Regions from separate parts of the Homo sapiens genome. Here region 1 is linked to region 2. Evidence: promoter capture Hi-C in human tissues and cell types (Jung and others, 2019). All regions are on one chromosome and are shown on one strand. The core of a region is centred on a gene start or on the middle of the fragment in contact, and the rest is flanking DNA. Distances in the headings are between cores, read along the strand shown.

Region 1 (6,958 bases), core at 321-2,820, 730 kb before region 2:
CAGCCTTCATTTTTTTAAAGGAGAAGTTTCATCACAATTATTAAATGGCCTAGACTTGTTTTTGCCTAACATTGTACAACTAACATAAAGGGATAAGTAACTAAAGTATTAAACAATTGTGTGATAAAATTATTGCCACAGTTTTCACTATCCTGAGTGACTCTACAGTGTAGCATTCTGGCAGGCTCTGCACGGGATACAGGTATGTCCTGCCAGTTGCAGATGCAGATGAGTCAGTAGAATTGATAGTTTGGCATTTGTGCCAGTAGATACCAAGTGAACATGGTGATCACTTGCTCATCCTCCTCACAATCCCTGCACGAGATCCACAGCCTTAACTCAGGTGACCCAGCAGATTTTTGGGTCATTTGTAAGATCAAAAAAACAAATTCTCTACTTTCTTACCCAGCAAGTCATATGAGAGCCAGAAGAGGGTATAGAATGAGTAAAACTCCCCTTTCTACTCTGGCCAAAGTACATTACTTAAGGTCTACAGATAAGAGCAGGTCTTTCGGCTCTACTCCATGTAGACTTTTCTTTCTCTGATGTTCCAGGAGTCCCCCCAGAAGGTCAGCAGGCTTCTACCATGTTCGCAGCTTTGAACGAAATCACTGCCAGGCTGCAAGATGTGCCAAATAACCTGCTGTACTGTATTGTAGCAGATGATGGTGGGGAAAGCAAGAGAGCTCATAGAGGCTGCTCCTCTCCTTACTGTCTTGAGTCATGAGACCTTTACTTAGGATATAACAGAAGCTAACCTGTTTTTCACTTGCTCTCTTACATGCACTTTTGAAACGTATTAAATCTTCATAATCCCTGGTTCTCTTTGCTTTTTTTTTTTTTTTTAAGAGAGTCTTGGCTCTGTCGCCCAGGCTGGAGTGCAGTGGCACAATCATAGTTCACAGCAGCCTTGAACTCCTGGGCTCAAGAGATCCTCCCGCCTCAGCCTCCCAAGTAGCTAGGACTACAGGTGCGTGCCACAACACCTGGCTATTTTTTTCTTTTTCCTTTTTTGTGGAGACAGGATCTCACTGTGTTGCCAAGGCTGGTCTCAAACTCTTGCCTCAAGCAATCCTCCTGCCTCAGCTCCCAAAGTGCTGGGATTACAGGAGTGAGCCATCACACCTGGCCCCTTTTAGCTTGCTTAAACACACTTTTTTGGCGAAGTGTGTTTAGCTAACATATTGTTAGAATATTCTTTCATTAAACATTTGAATGTTAACAATGTAATGTATATATGTTCTCATAGTTTTTTTCTTTCTGATTTTTGTGTTATAAAATATTTCAAACAGAGGCTGGGTGCAGTGGCTCACGCCTGTAATCCCAACACTTTGGGAGGCCAAGGCGGGCGGGTCATGAGGTCAGGAGATAGAGACCAGCCTGGCTAACACAGTGAAACCCCATCTCTGCTAAAAATGTAAAAAATTAGCCGGGCGTGGTGGCGGGCGCCTGTAGTCCCAGCTGCTTGGGAGGCTGAGGCAGGAGAACAGCATGAACCCGGAGACGGAGCTTGCAGTGAGCCGAGATCACGCCACTGCACTCCAGCCTGGGTGACAGGGCGAGACTCCATCTCAAAAAAAAAAAAAAAATTTCGAACAGAAAAATAAAGAGATTAATGGGTGGCTGTATGCAAGAAAAATGAAAAAGAGAATAACAACAAACACTCAAGCACAATTACCAAGCTTTTCAAACTTGGTACTTTCATTTTTTTGTGTACCATTCCTCAATCCATTCCGCTTCTTCAGAGACAAGTACTATCCTGAATTTAGTGTTTTTCATTAACATATGTGTTTTATTCTTTTGTGTTTTTTGAGACAGAATCTCCCTCTGTCACCCATGCTGGAGTGCAGTGATGCAATCACAGCTCACTGCAGCCTCTGCCTTCTGGGCTCAAGCAATCCTCCCACCTCAGCCTCAAGTAGCTGGGACTACAGGCACCAGCACCAAGCCCAGCTAATTTTTATATTGTTTGTAGTGACGGGGTTTCTCCATGTTGCCCAGGCTGATGTCAAACTCCTGAGCTTAAGCAGTCTGCCCACCTCAGCCTCTCAAATAACAAATATGTCTATGTACTTGTATTGCATGTACATCTGTCCATAAAAAAACATATAGTTTTGTTTTACATGATTTTAAATTTTATGTAAATGATTCTCTTCTACATGTTATGCAAGTCTGTATACGCAAAATTTCTTTACTCTTTTCACTTGATATCATGCTTTTGAAATTATTTACACTGATAACATATAGTTCTGATCTACTTGTTGTATAGTATTCTGTTTTATGAATATACCAGTTTGTAAGTTGATTCTCCTGTTAATGGACATACAGTTTTCAATATTTCATTGTTTCATAAACAGTGCTACAGTGAATACTCTTGAACATGTCTTCTTATGCAAATATATGGAGTTTCTCTAGTATATACTAATTTATCTAGTAATTCCTAGGAATGGATTTACTGGGTTATACAGTATATTCATCTTCTGTTTAACTAGATATTGCTAAATTGCTATCCAGAGTGATTATGCTAACTTATTCCTATCAGTAGTGTGTGAAAGTTCCCATTGACCTGCATCTTCACAAACACTTAAAATTTTTGCCTGTTCGTGGATGTGAAATGGTGCTATCTACACAGTTTCTTTCTGTGTAGTGATTTGTTTATGTTGGGCAAAGCTTATGATAGCTAGTGGAGCTGATTGACATCCTAGATATTTTAATTCAGGAAATATTAGTGCTTAATTATACAAACAGGTTGGTAGGCTATTCTGAATGAAATGCTGCTTGCTGGTGAAATACTCTGTTTTCAAGACCGCAAAACTAAAACCTTGTTTTAGGAATTCTATACAAGAATAACTTTGGGGAAAATTTTTTCCCTTAGGGCATTTCCACTTTCCAAATTTTTCCTCGTTGTTCCCTTTTCCTCCAATGATTCTCTTAATTCTGACTGATACCAGTCAGGGCATGAAAGAATGAAATGTCCAAACCCTTACTGACAAATTATACCTGACAGCAGAATAAACCCACATCTACTAAGAGGCTTCCATGGTTTTTACTGCTATCACTTTGATTACTCCAATAATGAAACTATTGAATCTGTTTCTTAGAAGCCAAGGTAAGAAAGCAGAGAATAGTCTGCCATTGAACTGATAGCATCTGTTTTATAATTATCTGGTGACTTTTCTAGAGAAGATGCATAAAGGCTGTGTTGTTTCATGTACACCACACTTGAATGATTGCTTCTTGAGTTGGATTGTACTCCAGTTATCTATTTCTGTGTAACAGTTCACCTCAGAACTTCGTGGCTTAAGATGCCTGTTATGGGTAAGATGGAGCAAACACATTTCACCTGTCTTTTCTACTGAACTCAGCTAAAACACCTGGCCTAGAGCAACTATTTGAGGACTCCAAAAGACGTATCTTAAAAGTTGCACTAAGAAGGAGCAGATTTTGAAGTACTGTTGAACCAGGGTTTAATTTATCATTCTCACCTCTCTCATATCCTCAGGCTTCAAATCAACACAGCCTAAAACCCCTAAGTGGACATTAATGTGGATAAGAGAACTCTAGGAGAAGCCTTCAGTTCTGGTTCAAAGAATGGGAAGGCGATATTGTAATACTAATAGAAAGTACAGAAACTTTTTCTTTTTTCCTTTTTCTTTCCTCTGTTCTCTTGCACCATGAACCTCAAGCAGTCCTGCAGTGACAGCAGATTGGGGTCTAGCAAGAGCTTAAAACTCTGATTTTAGGGAACCATTCTCAGATCAGTGGAGCTGTGGTTACAAGAGGGTGGAATGAGTCTCAATTGCTTTTTTTCTCTCTCCTTCATCTGCTTGCTTCCAAACAAAGGCACTATTATGGAAATTGTATGGCTGAGCAGAGTAAATAACATACCAGCTTTCTGACTAGGTAATGAGAAAGGGGAATCCCATTGACCTAGAAAGTACTGGGAGATTATAAGATATTTGAAAATAAACTCTTTAAATTTTATTATGAATTTTTGAGCTTATTCATGCAGTCTGCATGCAGAAATCTGACCCCAAACAGTATACCTAGACTTTGAGAAATGAAGTAGGGGTTAGACCATTGCCAAGTCCCAGACTGGCAACAGGGTGGGTGGTGCATCTGTGGGACAGATCCAAAAAGCACTGCAAAGACTTTGAAAACTTAACTGACATTGGAGTTCTGGCTGGGGAACAGTGCAAGGATGTCCTCTCTGGCAATTTCTATTGGTATTGAAGTTCTCGCCAGTAAAATAAATCAAGAAAAGGAAATAAAAGACATACAAATTGGAAAGAAAGAAGTAAAACAATTTCTATTCACTGGCTACATCACTGTATATGTAGAAAACCAAGGAATCCACAGAATACTCCTAGAACTAAGTGAGGTTAGCAAGGTTGCAACATACTATGCCAGTCTACACAAAATATTTAGAAAAAAAATTTCAAAAAGTTCCAAAAAGCAAAATTTGAATTTGCCACACATGAAATACTATGTTGAATCCATGTGAATGAAGTGATGTGTAGGCATTGCATTGGGTATTATAAATCTAGAGATTCTTTAAAACATATGGGAAGCCAGGCACAGTGGCTCACACCTGTAATCCCAGACCTTTGGGAGGCTGAGGCAGGTGAATCGTTTAAGCTCAGGAGTTCAAGACCAGCCTGGGCAGCATGGCAAAACCCTGTCTCTACCAAAAAAAATACGAAAAACTAGCCGGGCTTGGGGGCTGACACCTGTAGTCTCAGCTCCTTGGGAGGCTGAGGTGGGAGGATGGCTTGAGCCAGTAAGTATGAAATTAGCTGCTGTGTAAAAAAATTTTGGGCCAGGCACGGTGGCTCACGCCTGTTTAAAAAAAAAAAAATGATGAAGTTCCCCTCTATTCCTAATTTGCTAAGAGTTCTTATTTATTTATTTATTTAGAGACGGAGTCTCACTCTGTCACCCAGACTGGAGTGCAGTGGCACGATGTCGGTTAACTGCAACCTCTGCCTCCTGGGTTCAAGTGATTCTTGTGCCTCAGTCTCCCAAGTAGCTGGGATTACAGGCATGCATCACGATGTCTAGCTAATTTTTGTATTTTTAGTAGAGACAGGGTTTCACCATGTTGGCTAGACTGGTCTCAAACTCCTGGCCTCATGTGATCTCTCCACCTTGGCCTCCCAAAGTGCTGAGATTACAGGTGTGAGCCACCGCGTCCAGCCTAATTGGCTAAGAGTTTAATAATGAGTGGCTGTTGACTTTTCTCAAATGCTTTTCCTGTATAAATTGATATCATGTGGTTTTGCTTCTCTGGGCTAATGTTGCTTACCTTGCTTGGTTTTCAAATATTGAACCAGCATTGCATTCCTGATACAAACCCTGCTTGGTTATGGTATATTATTCTTCATATACATTGCTAGGTTTGATTTGCTAGTATGAGGGCTATTGGTCTGCTGTCTTGTTTTGTTTTAACAGATCTTCTCCGGGTTTAATTCCTGGATAATGCTGGCTTCATAAAATGAGTTCCTCCTTCTGCTTTCTGGAACAGATTGTATAGAATTGATTTATTTGTAATGAATGTTTGGTAGAATTTAGTGAAACCACAGGGAGATTTCTTTTTCAGAATATGTTTAATTACAAAATTTCATTTTAAAAACTGTTATATAACCATTCAGTTTATCTATTTCATCTTAGGTGATTCTGGTAGTTTGTTGTTTGAGAATTTGGTCCGCTTCATGTAAACTGTTGATTTATGTACACACAGTTCTTTGTAGGCATTCCCTATTATCCTTTTAACACAATTCCAATCAGAAATCTCAGCAGGACCTTTTTGTAGAGATAGACAAGCTTATTCTTAAATATATATCGAAAGGCAAAAGAACTAGAAGAGTCAACCATACTGGAAAAGAAAAATAAAGTTACGTGAATTATTCTGCCCAGCTTTCAGACTTACCATAAAGCTACAGTAACCAAGATGAGGCCATATTAGTAAAAGGGTACACATGTAGATTAATGGAATAGAATAGAAAGTTCAGAAATAGACCCACGTAAATATTGCCAGTTCATATTTCACAAAAATACAAAGGCAATTCAATGGAGAAAGGATAGTGTTTTCAAAAAGAGGTGTTGGAAAAAGTAGAAATCTGTAGGCAAAAACTTGAACTTCTCACACCTTATATAAAAATTAACACAAAATAAATCATAAATTAATATATAAAATAAACTATGAAACTTTTAGAACAACACAGGAAATTTTTAATCTGTGAAAGATGCTATCGAGAGAATTAAAGGGCATGCTGCATATTGGGAGAAAAATTTGTAAATCACATATCTGACAAAGGACTTATATTCAGAATACAGATGGTTCCTGACTTAAAATGGTTCAACTTAACAATTTTTTTGACTTTACAATGGTGCAAAAGCAATATATGTCTAGCAGAAACCATATTTCGAGTACCTGTACAACTATTCTGTTATTCACTATCAGTACAATAGTCAATAAATTATTTTTCTATTTTTTTATTTTATTTATTTAAAAATTTTTTTAAAAGCAGAGACAAGGTCTCACTCGTTGGCCAGGCTGGTCTTGAACTCCTGGGCTCAATTATTCCTCCCATCTCCGCTCAATATTCCTCCCATCTCAGCCTCCTAAAGTGCTGGGATTACAGGCATGAGCCACTGTGCCTGGCCTCATTCCTTTTTATGAAATAGGCTTTGCGTTAGGTGATTTTGCCAACTGTGGGCTAATGTAAGCGTTCTGAGCAATTTAAGGTAGGTTAGGCTAAGCCATGATGTTCAGTAAGTTAGGTATATTAAATACACTTTCAACTTGCAATATTTTCATTTTATTATTTTTTTACGATGGGATTCTTGCTGTGTTGACTAGACTGGTCTCAACCTCCTGGCCTCAAGTGACCTCCCATCTTGGCCTCCCAAAGTGCTGGGATTATACATGTGAGCTACTGTGCCTGGCCAATATTTT
Region 2 (6,551 bases), core at 1,502-4,001:
CAGCCGCCGCACCCAGCGCTGCAAGCCGGGCACCTGTTGCGCCAGCGCCTCCAGCTCTCGCACGCGGTGCAGGCTGCGCAGCACCACCTGCCGGGCCTCCTCCGCGCGCCGCCGCACCTCGGCCTGGCCACGGCGCAGCCGCCCAGCGCGGGCCTCCGCCGCAGCCAGGGCGCCCTGCGCCTGACGCAGCTCCCGCACCGCAGCCTCCGGCCCGCCGTGCCCCATCTCGTGGGTGCTCGCCTGGCTCTTCCAGAGTCCGACCTGCGGGGACAGGGCAGCAGGGGCAGGGGGTAAGTGCCCCAGCCAGATGCACCAGACGAACGCCCGCCACGACGGCGGCCCCATGCCTCTGCACCCAGAAGCGCTTGAGCACGTTTCTTGCGCCGTCTGCTTCCGGGTGCCAGGCCCTTAGGTCCGGTGCGTCCAAGCTCCTTTAACCCTCGCCACATCCCCAGGGAGGCCCAAGCTCTGATTCCTCCTCATCCCCCACCCCCCAACGTTTTTTCACTGAAGGAAACTGAGACACGACGCCTGTATTCTGTTCCCTCTATAGTACCAACCTCGCGACTCTTCTCGGCCTACTGTATTGGCGGCGTTCAGCCTGCCGGGTGGCGGTTCCTCATCTCCTAGACTCCCCCCAGTGGCATTTCCAGCCCTCCCCGTGCCTGCTCACTAGAGGCTTTTGAGGGTGGTTTCTATCTGTCTTTACTGGTGTGTTCCCAGAGCCTAAAACAAACCTGGCACATAGTAGGTGCTCAATAAATACCAAGCATGAGAGATGCCGGAAGACCGTTCAGGCGCATCCCATGGCTCCCAGTACGTTACTTGGGATTCCACATCAGAGGAGTAGTTTCCCGCCTCCACCCTGGCTTCCATGCACACTGACACTGAAAACCACACCTTGCCACTTCCCTGCACTCTGCAGTGTCCTGAGCTAAGGCGGGGTCATATAATGTCAGTTTCTTCCTGGCCTGTTGTCGCCTGGGGTAGGGGCTGTTCCTTTCCTCCTCTGACCCCTGCGGCCCAGCACTGCCCTTGGTGCTCGGCTGGCACAGTGCTTAAGTGTTTGTCGACGGCTCCCAGATGCTAAGGCTGGGTCCCTATCTCACCCCATGGTTTCTTCTCAATAGCCCAGAGCGGGTCTGGTTCCCGCAGGCACTTGGTGGCCCGTGAGTGCCTGATCCACAGTGTGAGCCACATTGTCTGTTTCTCACTTGTCTCTGTTTCTCCCACAGGGAGCCCCATAAGTCTTTGCTGATTGACAGAAGGAGCTGTCAGTCTACCCCAGGAGGCAGGGATATCCCTAAAGGTGAGGACAGGGCCTTCTTCACACTTCTGTCTCCTAAACCTCCCAGAAGCCTGGCAGGAAGGAGAGAGAAAGATGCTTGTTGAAAGGGAATATGTGAGACTACCCAGACAGGTGCAATTCCTAGGTTAAAGGGGCAAGACGCGATGATGTGGCGGTGGAGCAGAAAAGTGGGGTATGGTTGTTTGAGTGTGATTGGGGTTTTCAGGAATGGAATAGGTGGTAAGAATAGGGTTGGGGACTGGAGTGGAATGGGGAGGAACAGGGGCAAGATGCAAGTGTGCTGATGCGGAGTGGGATGGTGTGGGGCTGCCCTCTGTCTCCCCTTCCTCTGACTCTGTCCTGTCGGGCTCCGCAGCCAGCCAGCTTTTAGTTCGAGCCCTCTCCCGGGCGTTACCACCCTCCCTTCGTGGCCGGCGCGCACCTGCAGTGCTAGGCAGCGCGCATCACTGCTCTGCAGCGCGGCGCGCAGGTCCTCCACCAACTCGCGCAAGCTGCTATTCTCCTCCTCCAGCCGCGCAACGCGCTCACAGTCAGGACCGCTGTCGGGGCCAGGCGCGCAGGGCGGGCGGCGGCGGCGGCGCGGACGGCGCAGGCGGATCTGCGTCTCGATGTGCTCGCTGAGAGCGCCGCGGGGCAGCCGGGGCCCCGCACGGGTGCCGAAGTAGCCACAGAGGCGCGCGTGGAACTGGCGGAAGGTGAGCTCCGGCGGCTCGGCGCGCAGCGCCAGGCGCGCCTCTTCATCGGTATCTGAGTCCCCGTCCGTGGCCAACTCAGCGGCCGCATCCCCGGGGGTCACATCTCTGGAGTTCCCGTCACCTGCTGCCTGCCCGGCCGTGGTGGCCCCCTCCGCGCGCAGCCCCAGCACAGCGCAGAGCGCTCGGAAGTCGGCGCGGGGCAGACGGCCGGCGCCGCGGCAGTCCAGGTGGTGGAAGACCTCCTGCAGGTACTGGTCCAGGCCGGTGGCCAGCACCACGATCTCGTTCTCCACGCCGCGGTCCAGCCCGTAGTGGTGCGCCAGGGCGCTCAGCAGCCACTGCGTGCGCCGCGCAGGTCGCCGGTACGGGTCACCTCCCGCGCCCTCCATGCCGGCCTCCGCGCCCGTGCTGACCGGCTCCATCGCTGCGCCGCGCGCCTCGCTCCTCCGGTCCCTCCTCCGGTCCCTTCGCCCCGCCACTTCCAGGGGCGGCCCCAGAGTTTCTCGAAAGGAGGGGCTTAGCGGTCGCGGTCTGGTTGGAGCGGCGCCGGGGACCGTGTCCAGCAGCTGCGCTGGCCTCACAGTGCGTCTGGTTTACCCCAGTTGCTTTGGAGGGGCCTGGGGTAGGGGGTCCAGGAACCCCCGGGACCCCGGCAGCGCCACCAGTGCCCGGTCGGCGTCTGGGTCTGGCTTCTCCGCGTGACTCCCACGCTCTCCTCTCCTCACTCACGGGGCGTTCCTGGCGTCTGCGCTTTTCCTCCCACTCCCGGCCGTCCACTCTCAACTCCCTCCTCCCTCCGCCCCGCCCGCCTGGCGCGGAGAGTTCGCTCCGAGACCTGGGCGAGGGGTTGGCGCGGGATCCGAAGCCCAGGAGGGCCTTGGGGGTGGCGGCCTCGTCCGGTTGCTGGGGATGTGCCCCCACACCCAAGCGTCACTCTTCCCCCTCTTCCCGGAAGGCCTTTCGAGGGTTGCCTGGCAAGCCTGCTCTCGCCGCCCTGTAGCCGTAGGTGCGGAAAAGCCTCCCCTCCGCTTCAATTCAGCTACTGGGTTTCCGAACCCACTTCTTGTGCCACCATAGACCGTGCAAAGAGCCCCAAGTAGTAACTGGGAAAGAGAGGGAAACAGGCTTGGAGAGGCAAGGGGTCTAGGTTAGGGGCACCCCGCTGGTGAGAAGCCCATCTGAGACGAGCCCTGTGCTAACTGCTCTCTCCCGATCCCTGTTGGGGGTGGGGATAGGACTCTCGGGAAAGTGGTGTCTCCCGGCCCTGCCACCTTTGTGCCTGCCGGTGCTGACTTGGCAATGGGATCCGAGTTCCATCTCTTGAGCTGGGGTTAGGTTAACAGGTCGATGATTGGCTGATGTTTTTTTCTGGTGTTTTAGAACACATTTCTGGAAGATGAAGAAAAACCTGCTTCTCTGGTGAGTGCTAGACTGTGTTCCCTTTCTTTTTCACGAGAGGGGTGCAGTGATATTGTGATATTGTCCACCTGTTACCTGCACCGGGAACGGTTATCCAGCCACGGTACCCAGCCATGTTGGAGCAAGAGGCAGACTCTTCAGCTGTTCCTAGCTATGACAGAGACAGAATCTTGCCTTGTGGATAACTCTGTGAGTTTAAATGTAAAATCTTGCCGTTTGAAAAGCGATAGCATTCTGTCTCCTCTGCCACAGTATCCCAGAATCAGCACGTTGTCCATTTGGCAAATTCGTACTTGTTCTTGAAGGCTTTGCCCAGAGTACATATCTGCTGGGAAGGAGTTAGAGGCTTCTCCCCAAGCATTTTGGACATATTCTTTTAGGTTTGTTTTTAATTATAAAAGTAATGGCAATTTGACAAAGTTTTTACATCACGTCCACTTCTTGGCTTCTACCTTCGAAAGCCACTGTGCACAGGATGTTCACTGCATCATTGTTTATTACAGTGAGAAACTGGAGACAACCTGGTGTCCATCAAATCAGCTAGGACTCAGCAAACGAGGATGAGCGGACACAGCAAGCCACAAGCTGATTATGCACAACACTGATGCTTACATAACAAGAACAAAAACACACAAAACAATACTAAGTATTTTCTACTAGGACATGTGTATGTGAGTGCACAGAAGAAGATGGAGGGATTCATAAGTGGATTCAGTGGTTCTTTCTGCAGATGGGAGACACTGCAGTATTTCCCTTTTGTTAAGATGTTCTCATGTGTTTCTTTTTCTTGGCCGGTCGCGGTGGCTCACGCCTGTAATCCCACCACTTTGGGAGGCCGAGGCGGGTGGATTGCCTGAGGTCAAGAGTTCGAGAACAGCCTGGACAACATAGTGAACCACCCCCATCTCTACTAAAAATACCAAAAGTTAGCTGGGCGTGGTGGCAGGCGCCTGTAATCCCAGTTACTTGGGAGGCTGAGGCAGATGAATCGCTTGAACCTGGGAGGCGGAGGTTGCAGTAAGCTGAGATCCTGCCATTGCACTCCAGCCTGGGCGACAGAGCGAGACTCCGTCTCAAAAAAAAAAAAAAAAAAAAAAAAAGAACCTGATTTTATTTCATGTCAGCCCTAAGAGCTGGTAGCCCAGGCAAGAGTGCAACACCCTCCCCACCCCCCATCCCTGCAGCTGGTGAAGGAATCCTTTGAACAGTAGCTTTCCTGGGCCAGTCAATATTGAAAAGAAAGCTTTTAAATGTCTTGCTGGGAGCCGTTGCCGGCCTCCACTCCCCTACAGCTCAGGGAAGTAAGGGTTGATAATGGTTTGCTGTCAGGCCTGTCTGTCTGCCCTGCGGTGTTACCAGGCACCTCTGAAATAATTCTGGTTGCATCCACAAGGTTTTTGTTTAAGGTTCAAAGTGAGCAAACTCAGAGGTCTCCTTGCGTTCTTTTGTATGAGCTGGGGGGATGGGCGTGTGTCTGTGTGGGAGAGAGTCAGGGCTGTGGCAAAGAAATGATTTTCTGAAGTCAGTTCAGTATTGTTTGAGCCATTTCAAATAGTATATTGTTTAAAGTGTCTTTTAAAGGTCCGGGAAAATGCTAAAAAGCAAAAATCATCCACCATTCTGCCACCAAGAGAGGATCACTGTGTATTTCTGATGTATTTATTTCCAGACTTTTCTATGTATTTGGGCATGAAAGAACTTTTTGGAGTGATTGAAATACTCTATCTTCATGGTGTAGTGGTTGCATGACTGTGTACATCTGAATTTTACAGTGTGCAAATCGTAGCTCATTCAACTTGACATGAAAAGCACAGTGGAAAGGGCGCCATTGGGATCTTTCTTTGCACAGGAACTGAGCTTTGTAAACAGCTTGGCTGTGGTTTCTTTGCAGACACTGCTCCAGAGGCTGCTCTGTGCTCCCTGGGGATGAACTATAAGGTGCTTTGTCATCCCCCACAGATGCCCACTGAGGTGGTTTTCAGCTTTTCTCCGCAAAAACCATACTGTGAACAGTTTGTGCCATATCTTGAGTGATTTATTACTGGGCCAAGGAGTATACATATTTTATAAGCTTGTGGTATTATCAGCCTGTTTTTTGGAAACTTGTGTTGTTCTATCCAGAGCCCAGAACTGTCTGGGAATGTCCTTGGGCCATTATTTTCAGTGTCATAAAGCTTTTGGGTTTTTAGGGGTCTTGGTTAGTAGATTTGCTTAGTGTTCAGACACCAAGCTTTACTTCTATTAAAAATAGGCCTGTTGTTAGTCAAAGATTTCTTAGATACGACACCAAATGCATGATCCAAAAAAGAAAAAAATGATGAATCGGACCTTCATCAAAGTTCAAAACATTTGCACTTCAAAAGACACTATTAAGAAAATATGACGAACAAGAGACTAGGAGAAAATATTTGTAAAACATATGCCCAGTAAAGGACTTATATTCCGAATTTACAATGAACTCTTAACAACTCAGTAACAAGAAGACAAACAATCCAATCAAAAAGTGGGTGAAGATACAAACAGACATTTCACCAAAGAAGTTGTATAAATAGCCAACATGTGCATAAAACAATCTCAGTATTCTTGTTAGGGAAATGCACATGAAAACTATGATGAAATACTATATTATACTCATGAGAATAGCTGTAGTGAATAAAACAGGCAATAAATCTTGTCAAGAATTTGGAGAAACAGGAAACTTCATGTTGTTGATGGGAACACAAAATGATGCAGCCCCTGTGGAAGATAGTTTGGCAGTTTCTCAAGAAGTTAATCACAAAATGACCATACGACCCAACTCTTCCACTCCTAGATATCGACCCAAGAGAGATGAAAACACATCCACACAAAGACTTGTGTGGGAATGTTCATAGCAACGTTGTTCATAAATGTCTAAATGCCCAAGCCAAATGCCCATTAACTGATGAATGGATAGGCAAACTGTGGTCTGTCCATACAATAGAATATTATTCAGTCATGAAAAGGAATGAAATACTGACACATGCCTCAACATAAATAAACCTTGGAAACATAACGGTAGGTGAAAGAAACCAGTCACAAAGCCAGAACACAGTGTCTGACTCAATTTATAGGAAATGTCTAGAAAAGGCCAATTTTTAGAAACAAAG

The links. The method cuts DNA at HindIII sites, captures the fragments that hold promoters and counts their contacts. A contact is called where the count stands out against the background at its distance.
Region 1: a fragment that was not itself captured here is called in contact with the fragment with the promoter of EFCC1 in region 2 in 2 of the 25 tissues and cell types used here (aorta and psoas muscle).

The regions. Positions count from the first base shown.
Region 1 is chr3:129,729,536-129,736,493 of GRCh38, reverse strand. All of the region lies in intron 4 of TMCC1 (transmembrane and coiled-coil domain family 1), which reads left to right. Among named protein-coding and RNA genes, the nearest start is that of PLXND1, 130 kb to the right of the region's middle. RefSeq lists an enhancer at 1,005-1,505. The HindIII fragment of the contact is 5,355 bases long and covers 1-4,247 here.
Region 2 is chr3:128,997,504-129,004,054 of GRCh38, reverse strand. It overlaps EFCC1 (EF-hand and coiled-coil domain containing 1), which reads right to left and starts at 2,751. Exons shown (of 8, transcript NM_001377500.1): 1 at 1,731-2,751; 2 at 1-261. The coding sequence starts at 2,426. It also overlaps a transcript of CFAP92 not described here. The HindIII fragment of the contact is 14,506 bases long and covers 1-5,080 here.